2 separate regions of the Homo sapiens genome follow, and region 1 is linked to region 2. The links are contacts of gene promoters, found by promoter capture Hi-C in blood cells and fetal thymus (Javierre and others, 2016). All regions are on one chromosome and are shown on one strand. Each heading gives the region's core, a stretch centred on a gene start or on the middle of the fragment in contact. The rest is flanking DNA. Distances are from core to core; before and after follow the strand shown.

Region 1 (7,575 bases), core at 1,504-4,003, 140 kb before region 2:
GCCCCTCGCTTTCTGGCATTCAACTTGTATCTTCATCCATGGCGCATGACAGGGGCCTTTTGTGCCTTTTCCTTTCTCATCTCTGGGCTGTATCTTTTTAAGGAAGGCTTTTCATAACTCAACACAATAAAATTATTATCTTACTTTTATCCTGAATGCATCTGCAGTTTTGTTTACTTTTCTCGCTTTTTAATCTACCTGAATTTGGTTTTGCATATGGTGTATGCGAAGGAGATGGTTTTCAATGCAAGATTAAGGAAGCATACCTTTACTCTGTGATCAGACACCACAACGCCTGTGCTGACACACGCTCACACTGAGAGTAGAGCTACCTCTAGTCTCCTAGGCCCTTTTCTCCAGTAATGTTCCATTTCTAGATCTTGGGCTCATCTACCGAATGCCCACGGGTCTTTCTGGATGCTGCGGTGGGAGGGGGCTGGACCTGCTCTGGGGCCACTTGTGCCATTCCGCCCAGTCACCTCCTGCCCCTTTCAGGCAATGACTGTTCTACGGAGGCCTAGTTCTCTGGGTAATTCTGTTTTGGCTACTGAGCCTCTGGCCCAGGGAAGAACTTCCAATTTGCTCAAATGCATTAGCGAACTCACTCAGAGTGAATCCTCTGAAGCAGGGCCTCTCAAATGGAGGCAACTGTGCCCCTCCAGGGGACATCTGGCAATGTCTGGAGACATTTCTGACAGACGTAATGAATTGCTGAGGAAGGTGTTACTGGCACTGAGTGGGCAGAGGCCAGGCATGCTGCTAAAATCCTGTAATGCGCAGGACAGCCCCTAAAACAGAGGGTTACCTGGCCTGAAATGTCAACAGTGCCTCAGTTGAGAAACCGAGCTAAGGAAAAGTATTACAATAGTTTATCAATGAGTGATATTTCACAAGTTTTTAACAGAGGCAGTGTAAGCTATTGCATAACTTTGGATGTTGGTTAACAACAGAGTTTGAACTTGAATTAAGACTCAGTCTCAAGTCTACAGGGTGGCTTCCTCCTCCCCTTCCCCCAGTGCATGGTCCATCCTAGCATTTCCATCTCTCTTCTACTCTGAGCTCCCCAAATGACCCTGGTTCTATTGGGGATCTCCTGAGCAACATGCTAGTCACCTGTCCTGCCAGAGAAAGGTGACAGCTGTAGGGAGCAGCTGGCAAGTCAATGTTAGAACACTGCTGCAGTTGCCGTTCTTGTGTGGGTTTGCTGGTTAACTCGGCAAAAGGCCAGCCTGGCGCGTCAAGCTGCAGAAGGCCATCCCAAGACTTGAGAATTGACTCTATAAAGATTAAATAACCATAAACTTTTGATAACAATGCAATGTGGTCTTAAAAAAAAAAGTCAGCCGGGCGCGGTGGCTAATGGCTGTAATCCCAGCACTTTGGGAGGCCGAGGCGGGCGGATCACAAGGTCAAGAGATTGAGACCGTCCTGGCCAACATGGTGAAACCCGTCTCTACTAAAAATACAAAAATTAGCTGGGCAAGGTGGCGGGCGCCTGTAGTCCCAGCTACTCGGGAGGCTGAGGCAGGAGAATCGCTTGAACCCAGGAGGTGGAGGTTGCAGTGAGCTGAGATTGCACCACTGCACTCCAGCCTGGCGACAGAGCGAGAATGTCTCAAATTAAAAAAAAAAGAAAGTCTACTCATGCAAAGTTACTTCTAGCAGTAACAGGTTGTTCCTTCTATTTCTGCACAGGCACCACCAGCTGCAGTAACATGTCCAGCCAAGTCCACATGCAGGCCAGGCTCCTACCGCTCCTGGGGTGGTGGCTGGTTCCCAGAGGCCATGGCTCATACCCCACTGTAGCAGAAGCCAGCACCCACGGGACAGACCCACGGCAGCCCACATAGGGCCCAGGGTTAGAGAGTGCTGGCCAACATTACACCACACATGCACGCACGAGGGGTGAGGGGTCTTAGGTCTAAACCACTTGAGAATAATCTGTTGATAAATTTTCTCAGAATTTACAAAGTTTACTGCACATCTAACCTTTCATCTAAAACATGCGCTGATCATAAATGCTGACTTTCATATAACAATCAGGCCAAATATTCCCTTTAAGGGTGGACTGAGATGTTTTACACTTGATGAAGATCCACAGCCCAAGGCTGCGAGTCCTGCTCTGAGCTCTGTGCTCAGCAGCCCCGTGGCTGAGATGACCATTCTGAGAAGCACAGACTTCAGGGACTCACAGCTGTGCTGCCTATTCTCAGTGAAGCCCCTGAAGAACATTCTTGCATTCTTACCCTCATGACTGGCCTGGCTCTCCTTAAGGATGAGACAAGAAAAATACAAAGTACTGGGGAAAAAACTAACGAAAATCTTTGACAACCGAACCTCAGAACCATGTGTTGAGAGGAACCAAAGAACAATGGGGACAATTTCTACAAGTTTCTAAAATGTGCAGTCCAGGAAACAGAAAGCTTCCCGAAACTTACTCTTAGCACTGAATTTGTTTTCTTTTCGAGGTCTGCCAGTTTTCTTCAAGCAGTTGTCGCACACAAAACTGCAAAATAATAGTGGTATGATGAGACTGTATATAATGATGTAAATTGTCAAACCAACAAAATGCAGCATTCAGATAGTTTGTTGGCAGTTTAAATCACATTATTATAAAATTAAAGAGTGAAGAGGCAGACTGCTTTGATTCCACAATTCCTAAAGCGGACAAACGCTTAGAACTTAAATTTAGAACCAACTGCCATCTCTCTTAATCGCTGAATTCTTGCTGACAACAATGAATGAGATGCAGTAGCCACTGCAACTGCCCCGCCACTGGCTCTGTGCAGAACTGCCCTCCAGGCCAGGGGAAACAACTCACCCTGAAGGCCAAATGATGTCATAGTGCAGAACGCAAATCTGATGCATCTTCCGGCCACACTCCTTGCAATCAACGAAACTAGGAGGCAAAGAAGGCGCACTGTTAAAGCACACGGAACCACAAGACCAGAGTCACTTGTAGAAGTCTGTGTGTGCGTCCACACCTTGTTCTCTGGGTTACTTTGAGTAGTGCTGACATTAATGCGTGTGTTGGCTGATTCAGCTATATTTTACAATGCATCCGTATGATATCTTCTACAGGAAAAAGCTTTCTTCTTTTGTTTGTACAAGCGCTTCATTCCTCTTTTCTCCCAATCTCCCTTTGCAACCAGAAAGGAAACTTTACTTTTTAAAAATTGCTGCGACAAATACATATTTCACAGGCCGGTATTTCTGACACTGCTACACATTTGCAAGAACAATGCCTTCTCTAGGTGATTTCACATGCCAAAACTGACTTAAAAAATAGAGAACAATACTTTGAGTTCTAAACATGTGCTCTTAAGTCTAAAATTGTTGAGGATACTAATGGGAAACACGGCCAGTTCAGAGCAGCCACGCTAGGCGCGAGGCACAAAAACACCAGTTCTGAGTCAGTTACAAAAGGTGGAATGTGTCAGGCCTACTGGCAAGTTGACAAGGGTTTATTCAAGTAAACACTGGTGAAGCGAGAGAATGGACCACCCATTCCCCACGAATCCTCCACACTGTTCTACGGCAGCCCACAACCACGGCCCACCAGGGCTCCGTCACCTCCAGGAACCGCCTCAACCCAGGAATCTTAAATGCCAAGATGACATTTTGAGGTCAAGACCTTGGGTTTTTGTCAGCTCCCTCCCTTGCTGCCACCACAATGCATACCTCCGAGGATAGGCTGAAGGGACTGGTGAGTAATGTGATTCCCTGTGTGCTCCTGAGCTTTGAGCTACAGCTCCTCTAAAGTGTGCCCCTGCCCTCGTCCCCTTAATCTGTCCATTGCACGTGCTATGCAAGCCCTCAGCCATGGGTCTACCCTCATCTGGCTTCTCTGCCCAGTCTGCTGGAGGGAAAGAAAAGACACACACACAGATCTGTGAAAAAAAAAACACACACACACAAATGGCGGCACCCGTTCATGGTCCTATGGCACTCTCTGACAGCCCGGCTCTGTCTGGCTACCTCTCCCTTCCACGTGGCAGCTGCTCTGAATCTGCACTCCTTTCCTCCAGTGCTTATCCTCCACAAGCTCTGTCTTTGACAACTCAGCCACTGAGCTCATCCCCAACGCTAAGAATTTCAAAGGTTGGGGCCAAGAACTTCCTCAATTCCTGTGCCGTCTCCAAAGGTCCCCTGCTCTCAACTCTTCCCTCCCATGTCAGGGGAAAGGAGTGTCCCCCAAAACTACACTGGGGACAGGTGCAGTGGCTCACACCTGTAATCCTAGCATGTGGAGAGGCTGGGGTGGAAGGATTGCTTTACTGGGAGTTTGAGACCAGCCTGGGTAAAATAGGGAGACCCCATTTCTACAAAAAATTTAAAAATTAGCTGGGCATGGTGGTGTGTGCCTGTAGTCCCAGTTACTTAGAAGGCTGAGCTGGGAGGACTGCTTGGGTCTGGGAGGTTGTGGCTGCAGTGAGCTATGACTGCACCACTGCACTCCAGCCTGGGTGACACAGCAAGACCCTGTTTCAAAAACAACAAACAAAATCCAAACAAACAAAACACACTGCATATTCTAGACCCCATGACATCCATTTTGAATTTCCCCCTTTCTCCCACTCCCAATTATTATGGGCCAACTAGATGTCTCCCCTTCCCTCAGTCCCCCAGCAAGCCCCCCTGCCTGGCTCCAAAAGCTCTTGCTTTAATTGGTGTTTCAGTTTCTTGCCTTCTCCTGCTTTGTGTCTCTTAACTAACTTCTCTACTACAGAACAATGTCTTCTCCTCTTCTGTTCAGTTCACCTCATAGACCAAAGATGACCCTCTTACACTAGAACCAGTGCTATTCTTCAAAACCTCCTCAGCACATTATAGGATAAAGTCTAAACGTCAAGAGACAGTGTAATGGCCCTTCATGAAGTTAACCTCTGCCTACCAACCACCCACTCTAGGGGCCTTGTAGTTTTATTGAGCAACCTGTGTTCTTTCATGCCTTTGTTTCTAGAATGCTCTGCAGCTTCAATGTAAATGTCATCTTGTCCAGGAAACCAGGCGCAACTGTGGTGATGCCGCTCTGCCCAAGCAGGGTCCCTTCTGTCTGGGACTCACTTGTACTGTCTCCTGCTGCAGGCTGTGCCATTACCCAGCTGTCTCTCTAGACTACAACCAGCAGGAAGGAGACCCCTTCACTCATCCATGTGTTCCCTCTGCCTGGCACCTACTACTTGAATGTAATATATTTTGAAGTTGAAAAGTAGATATAAATTGGCCGGGCACGGTGGCTCACGCCTGTAATCCCAGCACTTTGGGAGGCCGAGGTGGGTGGATCACGAGGTCAGGAGTTCAAGACCAGCCTGGTCAAGATGGTGAAACCTCGTCTCTACTAAAAATACAGGCTGGGTGCGGTGGCTCACACCTGTAATCCCAGCACCTTGAGAGGCCGAGGCGGGTGGACCACGAGGTCAGGAGATCGAGACCATCCTGGCTAACATGGTGAAACCCCGTCTCTACTAAAAATACAAAAAAATTAGCCAGGTGTGGTGGCACATGCCTGTAATCCCAGCTACTCGGGAGGCTGAGGCAGGAGAATCGCTTGAACCCGGGAGACGGAGGTTGCGGTGAGCTGAGATTGTGCCATTGCACTCCAGCCTGGGCAACAAGAGTGAAACTCCATCTCAAAAATAAAAATAAATACATACATACATACATACATAAGTTAGCTGGGCGTGGTGGCGGGCACCTGTAATCCCAGCCACTTGGGAGGCCAAGGCAGAGAATTGCTTGAATCTGGGAGGCGGAGGCTGCAGTGAGCCGAGATCGCGCCACTGCACTCCAGCCTGGGGGACAGAGCAAGACTTGTCTCAGGGGGAAAAAAAAAAAGGAAAGAAAAGTAGATATAAATAATAATGAAACTATAAAGCCAAGGAGAGAAAGACACAATGTGAAAAGAAAGGTGGAAAGTCAGGAAAAACAATCCGATGGTCATGAGAGGGGTGGGCGCTCTGCCCTGGCATCTCGCCAAGACTACAGCTCTAGGATTTCACATCATCGTCCTGTCTGTGTACCATGTGCTGGTAGAGATGAAGTAACCTGCCAAAAGTCAAGCTAGGTTTCCAGAGGTGGCCTGGGTAGAAATCTGTGCTTGCCACTCTAGCCACTGGCTTCCCTGGAGAGGGTCAGGATAGGGAGAGCAGGGTCTGTTTCTTGCCTTGGCTGAGTCACAGCCCACACTTCCCAAGTAGCCAACGCTCCTGGAGCCTGTGCTCACCCTGGGGACAAAAAATAGCCAGTATCGCCATGCCAATTTGGAGCGCCCTCAGAACTTTACATTGGGGACCTGGGAAGAGGCTACCACACTGAAAAAAATCTGAAGTCTCTTTAGGGGCTGTTATGAAGCAAGGTTAGCAAATGCAGCACTCTCACTCATCACTGTAGAAAAGTGCTTAACAGGGCCGGGCGCGGTGGCTCACGCCTGGAATCCCAGCACTTTGGGAGGCCGAGACAGGCACATCACCTGAGGTCAGGAGATCGAGACCATCCTGGCTAACACAGTGAAACCCCGTCTCTACTAAAAATACAAAAAATTAGCCAGGCGTGGTGGTGGGCGCCTGTAGTCCCAGCTACTCGGGAGGCTGAGGCAGGAGAATGGCGTGAACCCGGGAGGCGGAGCCTGCAGTGAGCCGAGATCGTGCCACTGCACTCCAGCCTCGGGGACAGAGCGAGACTGTCTCAAAAAACAAAACAAAACAAAAACAACAACAAAAAAAGTGCTTAACAATGGCAAGAAAATGTGCCAAGCTTTACATTATTTGAGAAAGCAGTTTCCAAGAGGTTTTCTTTCTGGTATTTCCCTTTAAACGATACTACTAGTACTACCCCACCAAATACTCCTAACCTTTGGTCTCTAAAGATTCATGCTAAATGGCTTCTTAAAGACACCCATGACCAAATTATTAGAGAGGTTCTCATAGAACTAAAACATCCATTTAATCTTATCATTGTTAAAATCCAGTAACTAGAGTACATGTTACAGAGACATACATATTTTGTTTAAGTTTAAAAGAAATCTATATCTAAAAGATAACCTCACACCAGAAATTCCACTTACGGCAACATATTTCCAATGTTTTTACCCACAACCCACTCCATAAGGAGTAACTTTACCGATTTCAAACCAAAACTGAAAGTAAAAAAGAAATAGCTATATACTTACGGTTCGGGGTCTAAGGTATCATTTTTCTTCTTTTCAAACTGATCCTTTGAAATTGTCCTTGTTTTAAAATAAGAAAACATGTTTTATTAACTAAAATTTATCTGTTGAGTATAAACTATAGGGTCTCTGGAATGTTATTTTGTAACTAGTTCTTCAAACAAAAAGACATGATGGCCCCTTAAAATCTCAAGTACATGTAATAACGGAATGAACAGAAAATTTAATTTCGTAGAACACTACAATGTCTTTTTCTACATATTCCACTATCATTTCTTTTCCTTCTGTTTTTTCAGAGACAAGGTCTTGCTCTGTTGCCCAGGCTGGAGTGCAGTGGCGTGACCATGGCTCACTGCAGCCTTAACCTCCTAGGCTCAAGTGATCCTCCTGGGTAGCTGGGACTATAG
Region 2 (6,991 bases), core at 2,146-4,645:
CCATTTATTTGTTTAAAATACATCCCTAAGATCTCTGTCCATCTCATTACTCAATTTCTTAGTGGAGCAGTTACAACAGACAAAGTGTCCCTCGTTTCTTTTGGAGACAGCGTCTCACTCCATTACCCAGGCTGGAGTGCAGTGGCGCGATCTTGGCTCACTGCAACCTCTGCCTCCCGAGTTCAAGCAATTGTCATGCCTCAGCCTCTCAAGTAGCTGGAATTACAGGTGCATGTCACCATGCCTGGCTATGTTTTTGTATTTTGAGTACAGATGGGGTTTCCCCATGTTGGCCAGGCTGGTCTTGAACTCCTGACCTGAAGTTGATCCACCAGCCTCCGCCTCCCAAAGTGCTGGGATTACAGGCATGAGCCATGGCGCCCAGCAGCCCCTTGTTTAATGTGCTTGATAATGAGCCCTTCCTTGGTCCCCCATACTAACAGACCCTTTCACAATAGTGTGATGGTGATGAATGTGTAACACATGACCCAACTTAAGTATGATGTTGACTTTCTACTTTGGATTAAATCGGAGCCATTTAAAGCTGACTTTTGGTCCCACGAAAGAGCCCCTGTGCCTTACAAGGATCAAAATTGTAAAGGAAGGGGGAAAAGGTGGTTAAGTGTGGAAAATCCTTTCTGATCAACTTATTAAGCATCTGATCATCCAATAATGGACACTACTATGGAAAAAGCTAACCTTTGGGCTCCATCTTGGAAACAGCTGGATGTACATATAAGGACATGCCTTTTTGTTAAGTCTTGTGTTACTAATTGTCCCCCTTTTTAAGACAAAATCTACAACAAATTCATTCAACAACAGCAAAGCTACAAAGCCATCCAGGTTACCAGTTTCAGAAGACAAGCTTCAAAGCTGAACTCGCCACGTATGACCTACGTCTCACAGAACTGAAGACTACTCAAACACAGCAAGATTAATGAAGCAACGGAGATCTGTTTTGCAGTACAACGGCATTTAAACTACTGTTTCCAAATTTCTCACTTCAATAAGTTCATTTTATAAGATTAACGTCAAACTCAACTTTTATCAGCTAAAAAGAAAAGCATTAGTGATTTTTATATACCATGAGCATCATTTACTCCTCCCCACTGTTTAACAAATTTTAACTAGATAAGAATCTCCTTATGATTGATCTTTAAAAATCGCTTTTCACTTCTACATTAATATTAAACGTCGCTTATCATAACTTGATTCCAGGAATTGTATTCAAACTTAAGCCACAAAATTCAGGTTTTGTTTCAACAGCAATAGCAGTTTTTTTTAATATGCTAGTGGTCGGTCACAGAACTATTTCCACAAGTTGAACAGCTGTGTCTAGTGCAAATCTGAAGGCAGCGATGTAATTCAATTTGGACTCATTCATTAGAAACTGATTTTCAGATGCTACCACTGCAAGACTACTGGAGAAATGCAAGCTGCGCTGGAGATGGAATTGTTCGCAGCGGCACACAAGTTTTTGCGGCAAAGGAGAGAGCTCTAAAAGAGGAAATACAACTAGTTCATGTTACCATGAACCAGCGCAGTGGGACCCAGAATTACTGAATTAATAGAAAACTAAATACTTCTCTTAAGCAGCTATGATAACTTAAGAAAGTTTCCAGGGAAGCCGTTTAATGAAAGGAAACAAACAAAAAGATGATTTATTCAGTATCCTGCTCCATTTTTTTGAAAAATTGGAATTCCTACATTCCTTAATTCTTTGTACATCTACACTGTGAAAGCAACACAAACTCAAATGGAGATTGCAGCCCAAATGAACTTAAACCTGCTGTTTAACTTTCTTTTGAAGTTATACATGGAAATGAAACACACCACAGCAACTTTCATGACATCTTGCTAACGAAGTTTGGGTTTTGAAAAATGGAATGACTAGTTGACTAAAAACACACACGCGCGCACACACACACACACACACACACACACAAAACAAGGAGTTTTGAAAATAAGCACTAAGCATCTTTCCAAGGAACTCACTCATTCCAAGAAACTTCGGTTCTAACTCGCAAGCTGGCGGCTGCTGTGAGTGTCCTCTGAATGCAGCCTGGTCAATGTGTCGCCAATCCAGAAAACACACTGCCCTACCTTTGGCCGCGATCTTGCTTTCTCTAAGCATCAAAGGTACCCTCCGCTGTCATTCCTCTGGACGGCCACGCGTGTGGACACGGCCGCGGATGGATGCGTAGGACATTACCAAACAAACCCACACGCTGCACTTTACTTCTTCCCTCCTGGAGTGCCACTAGGGTCCCCGCGAGGAGGGCTGATCGGGTGCGGGGAGGCCGAGTGCACCGGGCGTGTGCTGACCAACTCGGGCCCAGTGACAGTCCTGCGACGAACTTCCACCCTCCCGCGCGGGGCGAGGGGAACGGGCTGCGGGGCCTGCTCCGAGCTCCCGGCTCGATCGGTATCCGCGACCACGACCCCCGGACGCTCTCTTTCAGGTGGGGGTGACAGCGCGCCCCGGGCCCCCGCCGCCCCGGACCCCCTCCTCACCTGTGCTGTCATTCGCCGAGAAACCGGGCGAGCTGAGTTTGGCTCTTTTGGGGTTGGGCGGTCCGTCCAGCAAGTTCTCAGCCATTTTCACCTGCTCGCGAAAACAGCCCCGGGCACGGGCGGCCGGGCCGGCGAGGGCCCGGACGGGGGTCGGGGGCCCTGCCGGCTGCGAGGGAGAGGAGCGAGCGCGGGCCGCGAGCGGGCGGGCGGGCGCCGAGGGAGAGGGAGGGCGCAGGCCGGGTGGGGGAGGCGGCGGCCAAATCTCAGCCACAGCAACAGCGCCCCGCAGCGCTCACCGCCCGCCCCCGGCCGCCGCCGCCGCCGCCGGCCGCGGCCCCCTCATCCCCTGCCCGCCTCCCGAGCGCGACACTCCGCGGTGGGGGCGCCCCGGCGGCCCGGCCGCCCCCCCGGGCCCGGCTGGCAGCGACGGCGCCCGGCCGGGCGGCTCAGGCAGTCCCCGAGAACATGGTGCCGCCGCCGCCGCCGCCTCGCTCCCCCCCCGCGCCCCACTTAATGAATTCGCTCGCGGCCCGACGACGAGGGGGCTCCGGGCTCCGCTCCCGGCCCGCGGCCCGCCGCCGCCGCCGCCGTGAGGAAAAACAATGCGCCGAGCGGGGTCGCCGCCGCCGCCGCGGCCCCCCCACCCCCCGTTCCGCCGCCGCCGCCGCCGCTGCCGCCGCCGCCGCCGCCGGGCTCCGGGAGGCCGAGCCGAGAGGCGAGCGGGGCCGCCGGGGCGGGCGCCGAGGGCCGGGCGGAGCGGGCCGGCCGGGCGGAGCGGGGTGCGCGGGCGGTTGTGGGGCCCGGGACCGGCGGGGCCGAGTAGATCGCGCTCGAAGCCCCGGTCGGGTCCGCGACAAGATGGCGGCTGTTGATTCCTCAATTAAAAAAAAAAGAAAGTTTTTTTTCTTCTCTTTCCAGAGCCTGAACGGGGAGGGGGTGGGGGCGGGGCACGCCGGTGCGTCACCCCCCCGCGGCGTCACCACGCACGGCCCCCGCCCCGCCCCCTCCACCTGCGCCGGCCGTGGCGGAAAGAGCCGAGCGTGCTCGGGCCGAAGGGCTGAAGGCGCGGCCGCCAAGCGTAGGGAAGCTGGCGGCCCGGCGCGGGCCAGGCCTGCGGGGCGCCTGGGCTCCGGGCTGAGCCACAGCTTTTGTTCTGATGGCGACCAGGCGTAGAGGGCCGGGGCTCCGGGCCCCAGCGGGCTCCGGGAGCGGCGGCCTGGCCGCGGGCTGGGCTCTCGGGCGCGGATTCGACGCCAGCCCGGGCCCGCCCGTCCCGCTGGGGCGGCGCTGCGTGTTCCCAGCTCCTCGCGTCCCCTTCCCCAGACCCTCCTAGGTGGCGTCGGTCGGGAACGGTCGGGGCGACCCCAGCCCAGGCCGCGCCACTAGCCTTCGCCGCCGGCCAGGGAAGTGGAATGGCCTCTGCAGGTTACAGACCGCCCTTGGGTCCTGCCGACGAGGTGGGCGGATGGGGAAACTGAGGCGGGGGGCGAGCAACTGCTCCAAAGTGGTCGAGGCAGGAAGTGGCAGGGCCGGGATTCGGGTCCCGCCCTACCTCGTGACACTAGGGAGTGAGGGGGCCTCACGCCTGTTCGCATCCCAAGGCGGCAGGGCAGACACCCTCACCTGTGAGAGCGGGGTGGCGAGGGCCGGCCTGGGCGGAGAAGGGCCCGCGCATCGGGGCTTAAGCCTGGACGCTCAGGCCGCACTCCCCGCCCCAGGCAACTTGCCTGGCGCCTCGCAGGTGCCCCAGACAGGGGTGCGGGCCTGGGGAGTCCCCCACGCGAGACCACAGCCCGCGGGACACTTCTACGAATACCCGAGGTGTTCCCATCCCAGTTAGTTATCTGCCCCTCCAAACTTGCCCGGCTTCCTCATAAAGGTATCAGCAGCTCCACTGTTTCCTAAGCCAGAAACCCGTGAGTCAGCGCGGACTCCTCCCTCTCACCCGCCACGCGCCCCTCTACCCACGGTCTTTACCTGGGAGACTGCTCCTCCCGCACTGTCCCGGTGGCTATGGTGGCAGCTACTCACTTAAGTGTTCTTTGCTCTCCACGTTGCTCCCCACGCAGCACCAGAGTTAACATCCCGAAAAGAGAGGGAGAAAATCTGTTTAAAACAACTCCCTGGCCAGGCGCGGTGGCAGATCACCTGAGGTCAGGAGTTCAAGACCAGCCTGGCCAACATGGTGAAACCCCATCTCTACCAAAAATACAAACATTAGCTGGGCGTGGCGGCGTGCGCCTGTAATCCCAGCTACTCGGGAGGCTGAGATGCGAGAATCACTTGAACTGGGGAGGCCAGTAAGCCGGGATCTCGCCATTGCACTCCATCCTGGGCGACAAGAGTGAAACTCCGTCTCAAAAACAAAACAAAACAAAACAAAATCCCAGACATAGAAAAAGAAAACACTACATAGTCTTTCTTTAAAAAAGAACACGTATGAATTCTCTTAAAAACATAGGTGTATGTACATATGGTGACTGTCCTTGAGTGTCAAGATTGAGTGATCGTTCTGCTTTTCTCTGTTTACCTGTACTGCTCAAAATCTTGGGCCGTGATACCGCTCTTGAATCTGTCTCTTCTACTTTACATGGCTCACTTCACCATCATCATCCTACACCCACTTGGCCAGTAGGCAGTTCACATCATTCAGGCTTTTTTTTTTTTTTTTTCAAATGCTGGTCCCTGTGCTGAGAAGACATGCCTGGCAAATTCTAACTCATCCTCCAGAACCCAGTTCAAATGTCACCTACTCCAGGAAGCCCTCCTAGCCCACTCCTCGGCTCCCATATCACTTCTGGGCTCTGTGAGAGAACACATAACACATCCTGCCCCATCTTCCCCGCCTCCACTGCCCCCGAATTAGTTCATGTTTTTACTTATGCATCAAATAGCTCTTGAGAATCCCAAGGGCATTGAGACTGTGCTAATCCCCTTGGCCAAACATAAAGAGATCCCCATATATTCAAGGAGTTAAAATAGCACACCCTGGAAGCCATAAATGGAAGTATTCAAGAAGTCAGTTTGCACAGGAATGGCAAGAAGTGTATCAGTGGCACAGGGCAGGCCACACCCTGTATCTGAATGCTCTGGGTGTCCGTCTCACCAAGGGTCTGTGAGCTCCTTCGGGGCAAAGATGGTGTCTTAGTCACAGAAACAGTGCTCTGCAAGAAGAAGTAGGTTTGTAAAACTGAATGAGTGATGAGCTGTGTCAGGTGCTCTGAGTCCTAGAGGCCTTCAGGCCACTGAAAAGGGTGGGCCCCAGCCTGAGGTGGCTCCAGGCCACTCTTCAAACGGGACAAGGTGTCCAGCCACCTAGAGGTCTTAGGGCCTGCCTTGGGGCAGTGGAGACACCATGCAGCCCCCCAGGGGTCCATTGGTGAGTGGTTTACACAGAAGTGGGCACAGGAGCTTGAGCCATTCCCTGACAGGTTTCCATTTTACAGAGGAAAGCAAGGGAACTCAGTCGCAAGGACTCAGAAGTAAATAACCCGGACATGGCAAGTCTGGGCCTGGAACCCATGTCCTCACTCTCCAAAGACCCTAGTCTTCCTGTCTCACCATGTTCCACCCTCAAAATATACCGGCTCTGCAGTCCCTTTTTCTGTCTCATTGTTCTCACCTGTATCATTTTGATCAATTCTGGTATTCACTGATACCTGTTTTTTCTTTCCTTTCGATTTCTTCTCCCTTCAGTCTGACTCAAAGAACCCTGAGCTCAGACACTGATGGGGGAATAGCAAGGAGGGAAGCGTGGCTCCTGCCTGCACTCACTTAGCTGGGGATCACCTTCAACAAGTGAGTGCCTTAGGGATACCAGGCCGCTCTGCCATGCCTCCCATGGATAGCACTTCCTACAATCCTGGAAGGAAAAATTGTCCTCATTTCACAGATGAAGAAATAAGGCACAAAGGAGGACAAGCCACCCAGCCACGAAGGGGCTTCACTCCGGTGCACACCTAAGGCTTCCTGCTCTTTCCACAAACCTCACCCTCTCCAGTCTCAGATACCACATTAAAAAACAATCAAAGGACTGGGCATGATGGCTCATGCCTGTAATCCCGGCACTTTAGGAGGCCGAGGTGGAAGGATCTCTAGAGCCCAGGAGTTTGAGACCAGCCTGGGCAACAGTGAGACCCTCATCTCTACAACAAAATGTTAAAAAGTGAACTGGGCGTGGTGGCATGCACCTGTAGTCCCAGCTGCCTGGGAGACCAAGGCAATAGGATCACTGGAGCTCAGGAGGTTGAGGCTGCAGTGAGCTATGATCAAACCACTGCACTCCAGTCTGGGCAACAGTGAGATACTGTCTAAAAAAAAAGAAAAGAAAAGAAAAGAAAGAGAAAGAAATGGAATTGGAATTGTTGGCTGGATGCGGCGGCTCACGCCTGTAATCCTAGCACTTTGGGAGGCTAAGGTGAGTGGATCACTTGAGGTCAGGAGTTCGAGACCAGCCTGGCCAATAAGGTGAAACCCT

The links. Contacts are between HindIII fragments. The CHiCAGO score rates a contact against its expected background, and 5 or more counts as called.
Region 1: a fragment that was not itself captured here is called in contact with the fragment with the promoter of CREBBP in region 2 in 2 of 17 cell types (endothelial precursors and M0 macrophages); the score reaches 7.0 in endothelial precursors.

Annotation. Positions count from the first base shown.
Region 1 is chr16:3,742,456-3,750,030 of GRCh38, forward strand. CREBBP (CREB binding lysine acetyltransferase) reads right to left here. Exons shown (of 31, transcript NM_004380.3): 21 at 7,172-7,228; 22 at 2,822-2,899; 23 at 2,439-2,506. Among named protein-coding and RNA genes, the nearest start is that of TRAP1, 29 kb to the left of the region's middle. The HindIII fragment of the contact is 665 bases long and covers 2,422-3,086 here.
Region 2 is chr16:3,877,318-3,884,308 of GRCh38, forward strand. It overlaps CREBBP (CREB binding lysine acetyltransferase), which reads right to left and starts at 3,396. Exons shown (of 31, transcript NM_004380.3): 1 at 2,515-3,396. The coding sequence starts at 2,599. RefSeq lists silencers at 2,385-2,434, 2,515-2,564, 2,605-2,914, 3,252-3,301, 3,322-3,871 and an enhancer at 3,075-3,651. The HindIII fragment of the contact is 11,013 bases long and covers 864-6,991 here.